Linked DNA regions of Homo sapiens: all the other regions are linked to region 1. The links are contacts of gene promoters, found by promoter capture Hi-C in human tissues and cell types (Jung and others, 2019). All regions are on one chromosome and are shown on one strand. The core of a region is centred on a gene start or on the middle of the fragment in contact, and the rest is flanking DNA. Distances in the headings are between cores, read along the strand shown. Region 1 holds the start of TECTA (tectorin alpha). Region 2 overlaps TBCEL-TECTA (TBCEL-TECTA readthrough). Region 3 overlaps TBCEL-TECTA (TBCEL-TECTA readthrough).

Evidence for each region. The method cuts DNA at HindIII sites, captures the fragments that hold promoters and counts their contacts. A contact is called where the count stands out against the background at its distance.
Region 2: a fragment that was not itself captured here is called in contact with the fragment with the promoter of TECTA in region 1 in 2 of the 25 tissues and cell types used here (liver and mesendoderm cells).
Region 3: a fragment that was not itself captured here is called in contact with the fragment with the promoter of TECTA in region 1 in 2 of the 25 tissues and cell types used here (dorsolateral prefrontal cortex and liver).

The regions. Positions count from the first base shown.
Region 1 is chr11:121,098,978-121,102,793 of GRCh38, reverse strand. It overlaps TECTA (tectorin alpha), which reads right to left and starts at 1,551. Exons shown (of 24, transcript NM_005422.4): 1 at 1,352-1,551; 2 at 65-129. The coding sequence starts at 128. TBCEL-TECTA (TBCEL-TECTA readthrough) reads right to left here. Exons shown (of 30, transcript NM_001378761.1): 8 at 65-129. The HindIII fragment of the contact is 17,013 bases long and covers 1-3,816 here.
Region 2 is chr11:121,150,650-121,154,939 of GRCh38, reverse strand. TBCEL-TECTA (TBCEL-TECTA readthrough) reads right to left here. Exons shown (of 30, transcript NM_001378761.1): 19 at 1,860-2,059. TECTA (tectorin alpha) reads right to left here. Exons shown (of 24, transcript NM_005422.4): 13 at 1,860-2,059. Among named protein-coding and RNA genes, the nearest start is that of TECTA, 52 kb to the right of the region's middle. The HindIII fragment of the contact is 8,423 bases long and covers 1-4,290 here.
Region 3 is chr11:121,048,310-121,052,700 of GRCh38, reverse strand. All of the region lies in intron 3 of TBCEL-TECTA (TBCEL-TECTA readthrough), which reads right to left. All of the region lies in intron 4 of TBCEL (tubulin folding cofactor E like), which reads right to left. Among named protein-coding and RNA genes, the nearest start is that of TBCEL-TECTA, 26 kb to the right of the region's middle. The HindIII fragment of the contact is 3,312 bases long and covers 1-3,143 here.

The sequences.
Region 1 (3,816 bases), core at 302-2,801:
AGTGTCTCTTTATCAATTCAAGAGCATGCTAACTGAGAGCTTTATGGAATTCTGTAGTACTCACCTTGGTGCTGTACAAGTGCGAAGATGAAAGAGACCCAAATTCTAAGGAATGATGAATAATTCATCCTGGAATTTTAAAAAGAAAATGAAAAAAAAATCCCCAGCTTGCCAGAGTAAACAGAACACCAGGTGTGTTTAGTGGCTAATCCCAAGACCATCAAAACCGTCATAGAACAAATTCACATAACAACATCAACAGTGCTGAGTCGGGCTGAAATCCCCTGAATGCTGGCAGGTCCTCCGAAGTTCAACACTTCATGAACAAATTAGATGCCCAGAAGAAGCCAGTCTGGAAGTGTAATGAGATCATTCAAACTGTCAAGTAATTATTTAGGATCAGTGAGAGTGGTATGCGTAAAGGAAAGGTATCCCCTCTGCATCAAATAAAGCGCTGAAAACTAGGACCCAACGCTAAAGATGCATGCAGGTCCCGGGTTGTGTCTCTGCAGCAGAAACCACACCCCAGTGAGACCTGGATTTCCTAATTTTCACTACAGCTTTCCATCAGAATCAAACAAAAGTTGGTTAAAACACAATGTGTTCTACAGCTAGGAGAATTTAGAGTCTGCCATCACCTTCTCCATAGAATGGAGCCGATCCATCATTTTGAAGTATTGACCAGATTCAGGGCCAGTCTACTCTGTTCACTGACTTCCCACAGTGAAATGAATGATAGAAACATTAGTAATAAAAAAGGACCAATCCAGAGTTGGAATCACAATAAAAATAGAATCCAGCGCACAAGCAACCAATTAGTTCCAGCAAGTTAATTAAAGAAGGAACACAGCAAAGAGAAACTTGTTTTCGTGTTAGTTTACAATCGGTTGCATGGTGGCTTTACCCTCCATCAGGAGCATGTTTTGTCTGTGTCACTCTGCAAAGCTGCGATGAGAACACGGACGCAAGCTCAAGTTAGACATCACCCAAGCGTGTGGCTAGACCATGAAGTCTCCTCCTGACAGTATTCTTAAAAAAGAAAAACCTTCCTCTTATCATTTGAAGTTATCACAATTCTTCAGCCAAACTTTCACGGGAAAGGCAATGAATTTATCCTGTGAGAGTTTTATTGCAAATCTTTAGTTGTCAAGTATATATGTTGTAATTTCAAGCACATATTAAATATTAGACAGTTTTGCTGGAAAGGGTACAAAGGTTTAGCAGAGATCACACACAGCTTTAATGGAGAAGATGCCGTGCAAGTTTAAGACTAGAGCCCTTAGGGAACCGGTTCAGAGAGAAGTAAGGAGGATTCATTTAGATATTTGTATTTATGAAAAATGTCACTAACCTGTTCTGTAGAGGCTGGAGGAACTGAGTCAGAAATATTAAGCCAAATCTTGGTAAGCCAGAAAAAATTAGGTAAAACAAGAATTCATGTCAGTTCTCCTCAACTTGTTGCCAATAATTTCTGATTCCTGAAATAATGTCTGAATCTCGTACTCTTAAAACCAAAAATTAAGTTAGTCCTGCACTAGAGACAGGTAAGTGTTGAGCTGCAATCAAGTTTTTTTCTATTGATTAAGGAAAAGTAAATCTAAAGATCAGTTTCAGGATTGCGTAGAGAGGTTCTTTTCCTGAAAAACTAGACCTTTTTTTTTCCCCTTTGAAAAAAAAAGTAGATTCAGATGGAAATGTCAGGTACTTGGAGCTGAAACCTTGGGCCTTTCTGATCAGAATCACTTTGCACTGAAAAACACAAAAGAAAACCCCCCTTCTACCTTTGTACCCAAAAGAAGGCAACTGTATAATGTTACAGAATTAGCATCCACCAGCATGGGATTAAAACTCCAAACAAAGCAGCTGCCTCCAACATTTAAATGAAGTTGGTTTTCTATTAAAGTCTTTTTTTGTTTCTCTGGTTTTCAACAGTCGCCACAGATAGGCTCTACTCTATTTTTTCACAGGTATGCATGAAGTATTTAAAGAAAATTTCCAAACTTTTTAGGTTTTATGCCCTCTCTTTTCTCTCTGATGCACCGCTCTGCAGGAGATAGGACAGGGCACTTTCCAGGCAAAATCTAACAAGGGACCTAGCGCTAGACACGATCTTCCACAAGGGAAATCTCAAACTGTGGCCTGGAAACCTTCCCTAACACCCAGTGAGGGTCACTGGAGGCAGAGGGGGGAGATAAACCCCTTCTGATAAAAAATTTGCAGTAAGTAAATAGTTTAAAAGGCATGTGAATAAGAGGAAAACGTGCTCGGTTAGATGCTTCCAAGCATCCAGTAGATGTGGAATGAGCAAAACTGGCTAAGGCATAAGCTAAATCTACTATTCAAAATGTTTAAATGGAATTTATTAAGAAAGAAGTAACTTGACTGTAGCAGGAAAAAAAAACTCTTCTGCACATCAATGGGAATTTAAAAATTACTGCAAATTTTCTCTGACCAGACATTTAAATGCCAACTGTACAAAAGAAATATAATTCTGGGTTTAAGCATGTTGTCTTAAAATGGACAAGAGTGCTTGGCGAGCTAAATTTTTTTAGTTTAAATTACTCCGTGTTTTTCCAAAAACCTGTGATAATTCAGTAGGTTTCCCACATTGTTTATTCTCTCACTGGTATTATGAATCCTCCACACATATTTACTTACAGATGTTAAATGACTGCTTCTTTCCAAATGACTCACATTTATTTGTTTTTCTTTGGATTCTAGGAGTGCTTAGAATGGCGTATATTTATATAACAGAAAAGCTAGTTTCTTGGGTGCCTATTTAAAATAAAATTAAGTTCAAATCAAAGACTCATTACAGAAGGATTCTCTTTGTCCAGCCTTAGGTTTTAGTCCAGTAGCCAACCTAAATGTCTTGAAGCAAAATCGCTGGCTGTGTTTTAATTAACTGCTGGTGGCATACTAATTGCTTTCTTCCTTTTTCATGCATTCTAGGATATTTATATCACAGCCCTTTTGACCCATGTTGGATGCTCCATCCTTCTTGAGACAGGACTGCTGCCCGGATAAATGCCATCTGGGCATAACCAGATACACAAGATGGTGGCATACATGAATTAGAATGCCTTTGAGAATCCGGCTGCAAGGGAACACCAGGTGCGTGGGGAGACACCAGGCTGGCTTATCACTTTGGGAAGCTGGTCAGTGAGTGTGTGTTCTGGTGTACACCCAGTGGTCACAGATTGACAAATGACAAAAATGTCTTTTCATGCTGTGTCAGCAGGAGGACTTATTTCGTTGAAAGTGTGAGGTGAGCAAAGATTTTGACAAGATTTAGATGTGGGGTACGGTGGGGGTGGGTTGGAGCTAGTTACCCAAGATAACTGTGCTTTATAAAAAAAAAATGGCAGAAGTTGATGCTGTTTTATAGGCAAGAGGAAAGACAGCTCAAACAAAATAAAAAAATACAGTCCTCTAAACTCAAGTAGAATGGGTTTTATTTTGTTTTTGTGTTGTTTTCTTAGGTTTTGTATACCTTTTTCTGTGGAACAGATGGTCAGATGGGAGCTACTTTGAAATGATGCAGTTATTGGCTATGGCAGACTGGGAGATGCGCCACTTAGACCCCCGTACAACAGAGATGTGAGAAGCACAGTTGGCCAACAGCCTCCAGCCCTCAGTGCCTTCAGGCTCAGCCCCAGTGCTGAAACCCAGGACACACTCTTCATGGGGCAGCCCTCCGCCAATGACCGGGCAAGGTCAGGCTACACAGTGTATCACTTTCCACTCAAAGCAGGACTCCCCGAATGGGCAGTTTTTTCTCTGGAGAGCCCTGTTGAATGACAAGGACTTGGTCAG
Region 2 (4,290 bases), core at 1,225-3,724, 51 kb before region 1:
TTTCCTGAGAGTTCCAAGGGCTTTTCTTTGCATCCTTTCATTAACACGGCTGGATTTTTCGTTTACAAAATGTTTCTCAAGAGAATAACAAAACAACAATAACAATAGCAGCTACCAATTATTGAAGGACTCGATGCCAGGCACTAGGCTAGGAACCCAGCATAGATTATTTATGCAACAGCCCTACTGTGTTGGTATCATTAGTCACATCTCATTCACAGGGAAACAGATGCTCAGAGAAATGACAGCGTTTGCTCAGTGTCACACCTCCAGCAGTGGTACCGCTAGGATGGAACCCAGGTTTCATTGAATTATGCCACACTGACACTCAGGATGCCTGCCGAGGGTGCATGGCACAGTTGAGAAATGGATAGGTTTTGGTAAGTCTCCGGGCTGGGGAACACAGTTTAGAGAGTGCTTTTTGAGTTTTGAGCCTGGTTATATCTTCTCCTCAATTGTGAGAAAACAGAATTCATTAATTTTTTCCACATGTTCTGCCTTTTCCTTTCAAATAACATTTCTAAGAGCTCATTTCAACACCCCCTTTCCCAAAAAGTCTCCTTTGATTAGTTTCACTATTTTACCTTACTTCCTCCCTGTCTTTCTAATATAGCATTTAAATAAATTCTCCACTGAAAGTGAAATTGAGGGTAATGTCCACATTTCTTTTATTTATCCCCGAAGTTAGGGCAACTTGAATGAGTCAATGTATCTTTACAAAAAGGAGATATTATTTATTTTTCGCCTAGCTGATTTCCAATTCAGACATTTCAATTAGATTTATTTTAAAGCTACTATTCTTTTTCACTTAAAATTGATTAGTTCTGTAGGGTATTATTTTTCACTTGCTGATAGGTTATTTTGTAACTGATCTCTTGTTCTTTAAAGTACATTGTTTCTCTCTTCTGAATAGATTTTTAAGATCCTCAAGGCAGAGGACGTGCTTTCTCATCCCCCACAATACCACCAGCACAGTGCTTTGCAAACAGCAGATACTCAATTATCTGTAGTTGTTAACCATCTAACTTGCCAACATATGGTTTTGATATCATTTAAACAGAGAATGGGCTTGAGGTCGAACCATGAACTAAATACCTTGTCTAGGCAAGAGCTTTTCTAGCTTAGTATTATGGAATTCTAGCTTAGTATTATGGAAAGATTACAAAGTCCAAAAAGTGAAATGATTTCGTGAACTAATATGCTTTATTGAGAAACATCTACGAAGGGCATCTTCATGAACTCTATGTTTAAACTCCTGTAGAGGGCGCCGCAGAGGGTGGGATGTGGGGGCACCACATTAGCAGTCCAGACCAAACTCCAGGGATGATACCACAGTGACAAATGGCACACGTGGAGATGGCAGCCACAGCTACCCTCACGGAGCCTCAACAGACAGAAGAGGGAAGTCCGCCCCACTCAGCCTCCAGCTCCATATTTTCCAGTTACAAATGTCCTTAGCTAAGACAGCTACAAATATCAGATTCACAGCCACCGTGTATCCAAACTATAGCTCTATCTGAAGCTTTCAAACTGAGATTCACAGGACAGAAAATCAGAGAAAGGCACGACACAGACACACAAATGTGAGTGAGTAGGGGAGGCAGAGTGCTGGAGACCTTGCCACTGTGGAGGAGGGAGGAAGGAGACACTCAGGTGTTTTTCCAAATCTGACACTCAGTGCCCAAGAGCATCACCTGAACAGTGTGCTTAGCCTCTCTACCCCCCATCCCATTCCCCTGCCACGAACACGACGCTCTTCATAATGAAGTGGGAAAATTGGTCAATCTGACCAACCTCTTAGAGTTGGAGAGGAATCTGATCATTGGCAAGGAGGAAAAGGCCGGGCTGGCCTCCCATACCTCGTAATATTTGCCATCGGAGTAGCAGCCGCAGCTGTGGGGCAGGATGCAGCTCTTGCCGTTGAGGACGTAGCCAGCGTCGCAGTGACAGCCCTCCACGCAGTAGTGGCTGCAGTCACTCTTCAGGCGGATGGCGGCGCAGCGGGGCTGGCAGACACTCACGCAGCTCTCGTAATGGCTGTTTGGAGGGCAGGTGACAGCTGGAACAAGAGAGACAAGTCAAGACTCGCACGATCACAAGGCACCGAGGAGGGTTTTCTCATGGCCATTGCTCACCTACTCAGGGAGATGAAAGGCACGGGGAGAGGCAGGAGCCAGGAGGTCTGCCGCCTTTCTTCATTACTGCCCTCTTTGCTCACAGAAAGCCTGGGTCTGATTCGTTCCTGCTTAAATAAAGGGCCAACATGCAGACGGAGGTGGCTGGAGCTTCTCACATCATGGTCGTCCTCACCTCAGCCTGGCCATTGAGATCCTCTATGGCCTGCCACCTGAACCCACCGCCCATCTGAATCTCCAGTTAGACATGTCACCTGATAACCTCCCAGGGCACCCACACTCCTCCTGCCTCTAGGTCTTCATTCACATTGATCTTTCTTATTCATGCCCTTCTTCATCCTCTCAGCCTATCCAAATTCCTGGTTCTTCAAGTGCCAGTGGGAGTCCCACCTTACCCATGTAGTTCTCCCTCTTCGACCAATGTCAGCTCCTCTACACCCCAGAGCTTCTACAGAACGTTTTTCTAAGCCAGCAGCTTATCATCAGTAGATGCCTCAGCCCCATGATCTCTGAGAAGGCAAATGTACACCGTGTGTGTTTGTGTGCATGAGTACACGTGCTGGCATGCATGGGTGTGTGCACGTGCACATGTCTGTGCAAACTGATTCACGTCAATTATGTTCTGCCATTTTTCAAATGCATCTAGATGCTTCTATAGAAGGCAGGTAGGGTCCTGGTGAAGGGTGTGGGCTCTGGAACCAGCTATAAGAGACCCAGAGCGTCACTCGGGCTCTCTGAGCTTCAGCTTTCTTATCTATAAATACAGATACCAATAGCATTCACTTCATGGCTGATTGCAAAGGATTAAGTGAGTCTGTGTGCTCAGAACAGTGGTTGGCATGTAAGTGTTCAGTATTAGTCAATCATTAAAGATAGGTTTGCTTAAAAAGTTTCGTAGAAGCTATTATCTCAATCAACGTATACTAAAAGCACAGCTACCATTATGTGGGAACTTCTACCCTATACCCTATACAGTATCTATATGGGGGGTTATTTCATTTTTTAAATTATATAGCGGTAACACCTACTTTTAGAGTACACAGTTCTATGAATTTTAACACATGTATTGATTCATATAACCACTCTCACAATATACCATGTTTTTAAAAAACATTTGTAGTTTAATACATAATACTTGCATAGTGTAGAAAATCCAAACCATACAAGAAAAAGCGTGATGAAATGGCAACCTCCGATAGCAAACTATAGTCAATTTTTCCAGAAGTGTTCTATGCATATACAAGCACCCATCTGTGTGTGTGTGTATGCACATAAGCATACATGTATGCCTTGTCCATTATTTTTTGCATAAATGGGAGCATAATATATACACATTTCTGCTCATTGCTTTCTTTATGACAATATTCATTCCATTTAGCCTCAAATTATTGCTTTTGCACTGCTGCATGCTGTGTGTACTTTATGTGTTTATGCTGATGCTGCAGTGAACATCCCTGTATGTATACCTTTGCCCTCATGAGTAAGGGCATCTGTGGAATAAATTACTGAAAGTGGAATTACTGGGTGAAATGGTATGAATGCCGCTAAGTTGCTTCTAAAGAGACTGTGCCAATTTGTCTTCCTACCTGCGCTATTGGAGGAGGTTTGTTTTCCCACACTCTCCTTGATTGTCTTATCACCAAATTGTCTGATCCTTGGAAACAAGGTTAAAATGCGATATGTGCCATCTCCTTATTTAGTTTGCATTTCTTTGTGAGGTTGATCCTCTTGTTCTCATTTGTTTATAATCCATTTATATGTCTTTTTTTGTTAACTGCCTTTTCATATCCTTTTCACATTTCATGTTGTTGAAATTTTTATTATTAAATTATAAAAGTTCTTTAAAAATTAAAATAGGCCTGGCCAGGCACAGTGGCTCACGCCTGTAATCCCAGCACTTTGGGAGGCCGAGGCAGGTGGATCATGAGGTCAAGAGATCGAGACCATCCTGGCCAACATGGTGAAACCCTGTCTCTACTAAAAATACAAAAATTAGCCAGGCATGGTGGCATGCGCCTTTAGTCCCAGCTACTTGGGAGGCTGAGGCAGGAGAATTGCTTGAACCCAGGAGGCGGTGGTTGCAGTGAGCTGAGATCGTGCCACTGCACTCCAGCCTGGTGACAGAGAAAGACTCCATCTCAAAAAAAAAAAAAAA
Region 3 (4,391 bases), core at 238-2,737, 50 kb after region 1:
CATATTTATACATCATAAATATAAGCAGAAAAAATGAATAAAGAAAACTGAAGACTAGTTGGCACAATCTGCGAGAAGGATCAGCTTAAACAAGTATGAAATAAATGCTAGATGTCCAGCAAATGTATTAAGCATCAAACAACCAGGCAATGTGGTAAGTAAAAGCTATAAGAAAAGGAGAAAAGAGTAGTTAGGATTAGTTTTAGAGTCAAAAAGCCTGGGTTCAAACGAGGTTCCAACACTTCCTAGCTGTGTGATTTCAGACAAGTGACTTAATCTTTCCAAATCTCAGTTTCCTCATTTGTAAAATAGGGAAAATAGTTCCCATCTGTTGGTAGGATTAAATGAGATACACATTAAAGTGCTTAGCATAGCAAGTGACACATTTTTTTGAAACTTGTTTCCCTACGTACCCCCAACTAGCATGTAAGCTCTATAAAAGCAGATATAGTACTTACCTACTTCACTACTGCATAGTGGACACTTATTTATTGAATAACTTAATGGCAAAAAATCATTTAATAAATGTAACTATTATGAACATAAGCATAATATGAACCATTATCTCAACCTTAGCTACCCATCGGAATCACTGACAGAATTTAAAATATGCTGATTCCAAGGTTCCACCATAATTACTGAATCAGAAGCTTCATAGGTGGGACAAGCTTCAGGGTTGCAACCTGAATATCTTTCTTTTCAGAGCTCCAGAAGTAATGCCAAAAGAGTATCCAGGAGGGAGAACCATGGGTAGAAAGAAAAAGTAATCTGTACTTTACATCAGATCTACTGTGTAAACATTGAGTTCAGGAGCTCTAAAATCAGTGAGAAGTAGATTAATTCCAAGAAGTTTCAGAAGAGTAGGTGAGAAGAAAAGGTTCCCTGCATTCACTATTTCACTTATTCCACACACTAACCCTATAAAGTGGGTACCATTTTTATCCTCATTTTACAAATGAAGAAATGAGCTGCCTTTTAGAGAAAATATACTAGGCTTCTGTTTAAAGTGTAAGGAATTTATACCAGTGTGCACATATTCTCTTGCTTGATCCCTTTTGCGATCAAATGGTACCAAACATTTGTGCAATATATGGCTAGTATTTGGAGCTCAGTCTGTGACCAAAACACAGCTAAATAGTTCATGCAGGAACCAATCTGTACTGCATTCTATGATTGAATACCGATACGAAGAACTTTCATACAGAAGATGCTTACCAGCTATACTTAACCTCTTTGTGGAGGTTGGAGGGGGACAGGAATTATGCTCCAACTAAAGCACGAAGAATAACTTATAGGACAACCCCAGTTAAATAAAAACAAAACATAAACCCTTTGCTAACTACTACCACTCATATTTTATTTTTATAATAAAGAGGAAAACGCTTTAAAAAATAGATAATTTAAGGGTTTTGAAACAATTTCTGGGAGATTTCCCAAGGCTAGCAGATATATGATGTAATCACCATGGTCTGCATCAGCATTACTGTACAGTGAAAATTAATATTCAGAATAATGACTTGTTAACCCTAGAATATCCTAAAAGGTAAAACTGAACTAGAATTTAATCATTCAAGCAGGAAAAATAACAAATGTTAGAAATAAATGAATATTTTCTTTAAAGGGATAAAATAAAAAAGGTTTTTTTGAGTAACCTCAAATTGATAAGACTCAGGAAGACATAATATTCATTACACAGATAAATTTACTTATGACAGAAAAACTTGCCAGTACCAAAAGCCGACAAACATTCCATGAGTTTCTAGGGCAGTATATTGACTTCTCTTTTTTAAATTCTAAAAATAAAAAAGACTCCTCTAACTGGAATGAGTATGCTCATGTGCAGAAACATGGAGATGAACTCAGATCACATTTTAGGTTTCTACAATTCTATGATGTAATAGGGGACCCTTTACTTTGGCTTCCAAAAAGGAAGAAACTGAAGATTTAAGAAAAATGGGAAAAGGGTTTTAAGACAACAATCTGTCATCTGTACCTAAGCTATTCTCTACCTTACCTGAGTGGCTACTTCCTCCCTCCTCTCAACCACTAGGTTTAATTTCTTTTATAAAATGGTTTTGATAAGGAATGGAGTAAAAAGAAGGTAGCTTGGGAAAGGTCAGACAAAGATCTACTCAGCCAAAAATTCAAGTCAAAAGCTAAAAAAAAATGCATTATTTTTAAACATAGGTGCCCAATTTTAGAAGGGTGAAGACAAATCTTTGCCTCCCCAGAAGTATTACTTCTCTCATCCATATTTATCTTAGTCTCTGGATATATAGCAGCCAGCAAATTAAGTTACAAAAGAAGTTACTCATAACCTATAATATTCTTGGTCATCCAAAAAACTAAGGGAAAAATTATACAACTGGTTCCACATTGCCCTATCAATACTGGCTGAAATAAATTCCGTTAATAGCTAAGGACAAATTATCTTTTTGGTAATCAGATATATGGGTTATAATGGGGTTGAAATGTAATGTCCTAAAACAGGCGACCTATGAAGCATTTGTAGCCTGGCCAAGAGTTTAATCAATCCTAAAAATCAACATTCTTTTGTCATATTTCTCCCTTTTCTATGTTCTGATATATCCTCTAGAAGACTGGGATCAACTACAGTTAAGGATAAAGAGGAAATATAAAGGAATGATGAAAACAAAAATAAATTAGAAAATGGATACCTGAAAGTAGCAGCAACAAATATTTACTTGAAAACTGCCTGAAAACAGACTATAGAGCACTTAGGAATACACAAACTGAGTATAAATACAGTATAAATAAGTATGTGACCCTCTGGATATATGTCAATGTGGCTTGAGAAAAATGTAACATAGACTTTTGTCTAAGCAGGGAAAAATGCTGAATTACTTAGTGTACACACTGTATACTGATCCATATTACACACATCTTCCTCCTGAGGTAGCAACTACATCACTATTAAACTGTTCCCACCAATTAGCAAAAGCTTATATACATGGTCCAGGCACAAAACCTTTGTAAAATTTTGTATTTCCAAAGAAACAAATTTGAAGTGCAGATAAAGCATGCATGGCAGTTAAATGTTGCAGAGGACCAAGAAGGCACAATCTGTAATTTGTTAAACAGTAAACTATACAAGTTGTTCAGATAAGTAAATAAATATATATACAAATAGAAATTATTTTTTAGAATAGCCCTATAAATTTGCATATGTTAATAAATCACTTAGAAATAGGTGACATGCATTGCAAAGAATTTTGGTTAAAATCCTAATAAAAGTAGGAAATATAACCACGAACACAGTTACCAGATTTAACAAGGGCATAAAATAGAGAAATTTAAGAAAAGCTTACCAAAACTAGGTTATGGATAGGTTTTTCTTAAACAAGAAATCTGTCTTAGGATTTGTATAGCATTCAATATCTACTAAGTGTTTCAATGATTAATTTTATCGGCAAGCCTACCTTATGGATAAGCAAACTAAAGCTCTAAAGGATTAAGTAAATTTCTTAAGATCACAGGAAAAGTTGGAACAAGAGGTCTTGATTAATCCTTAAGATATAATCATTTAATCATTAACGCACTCAACAAATATTTGACTACTTGGTATGCTGGGCTTATGATAAAAAAAAGATAAAAATCTCCACTTGGAATAAGCTCATAGTCTATTAGGAAAACTGTCAAGTAAGCAAGTCATTATACAAGACTGTGATAAATCCTTTCACAGTGGTATAGTGTAGGTGCTCTGCGATAATCTGACTCTGTCTGTGAGACAGCCAGGGAAAATTTCACAGAGGAATAGCAACTTGGGCCAAGTCTTGAAGGATAAATAGGAAGTGGCCAGGTAGACAAGAAAAGAAAGAGAGCAGTGGGTTCAGAATGAATAAAAGCAAGGAAGCTTTTTATTTTGAGTTTATCATGAGCTGCAAGTAAAAGTATATGGCTAAAGAGGGAGAAAAAGTTCTAGAAATAGCAAAGGGCCATATGATGAAGGGTCATGCTTATAGAGTCAGACTTTAGTTTCTAGGCAAAGAAAGGCAACTGTAGGCCTTTATGCAGGACAGTGTCATAATCATGAGTCATATATTAAAAGGAGTCTGTGGTAGCACTACGGAAGACAGCTTAGCAGAAACAGAATAAAGCTGGATCCAGGAAAACCCATTAGGAAAGTCTTCCTAAAGTCAAATCAAAAAATAAGAGCCCAAATTAAGGCAGAAGAATGAACCAAGTAGGAAGAACATTTTAACCTTCTTCTTCAGGGTAGCTCCTATCAGGTAATGTTATAAGCAGGTAGGTAATGTTACATATAATAATAAGAGAATGTTACAAAACTGTATTTGTGTACTTTTACAAACTATGTGTGTAGTTTATAGTTACTCTGAGGTCAAGACATCAGTTATGTCAAACCACCCAAG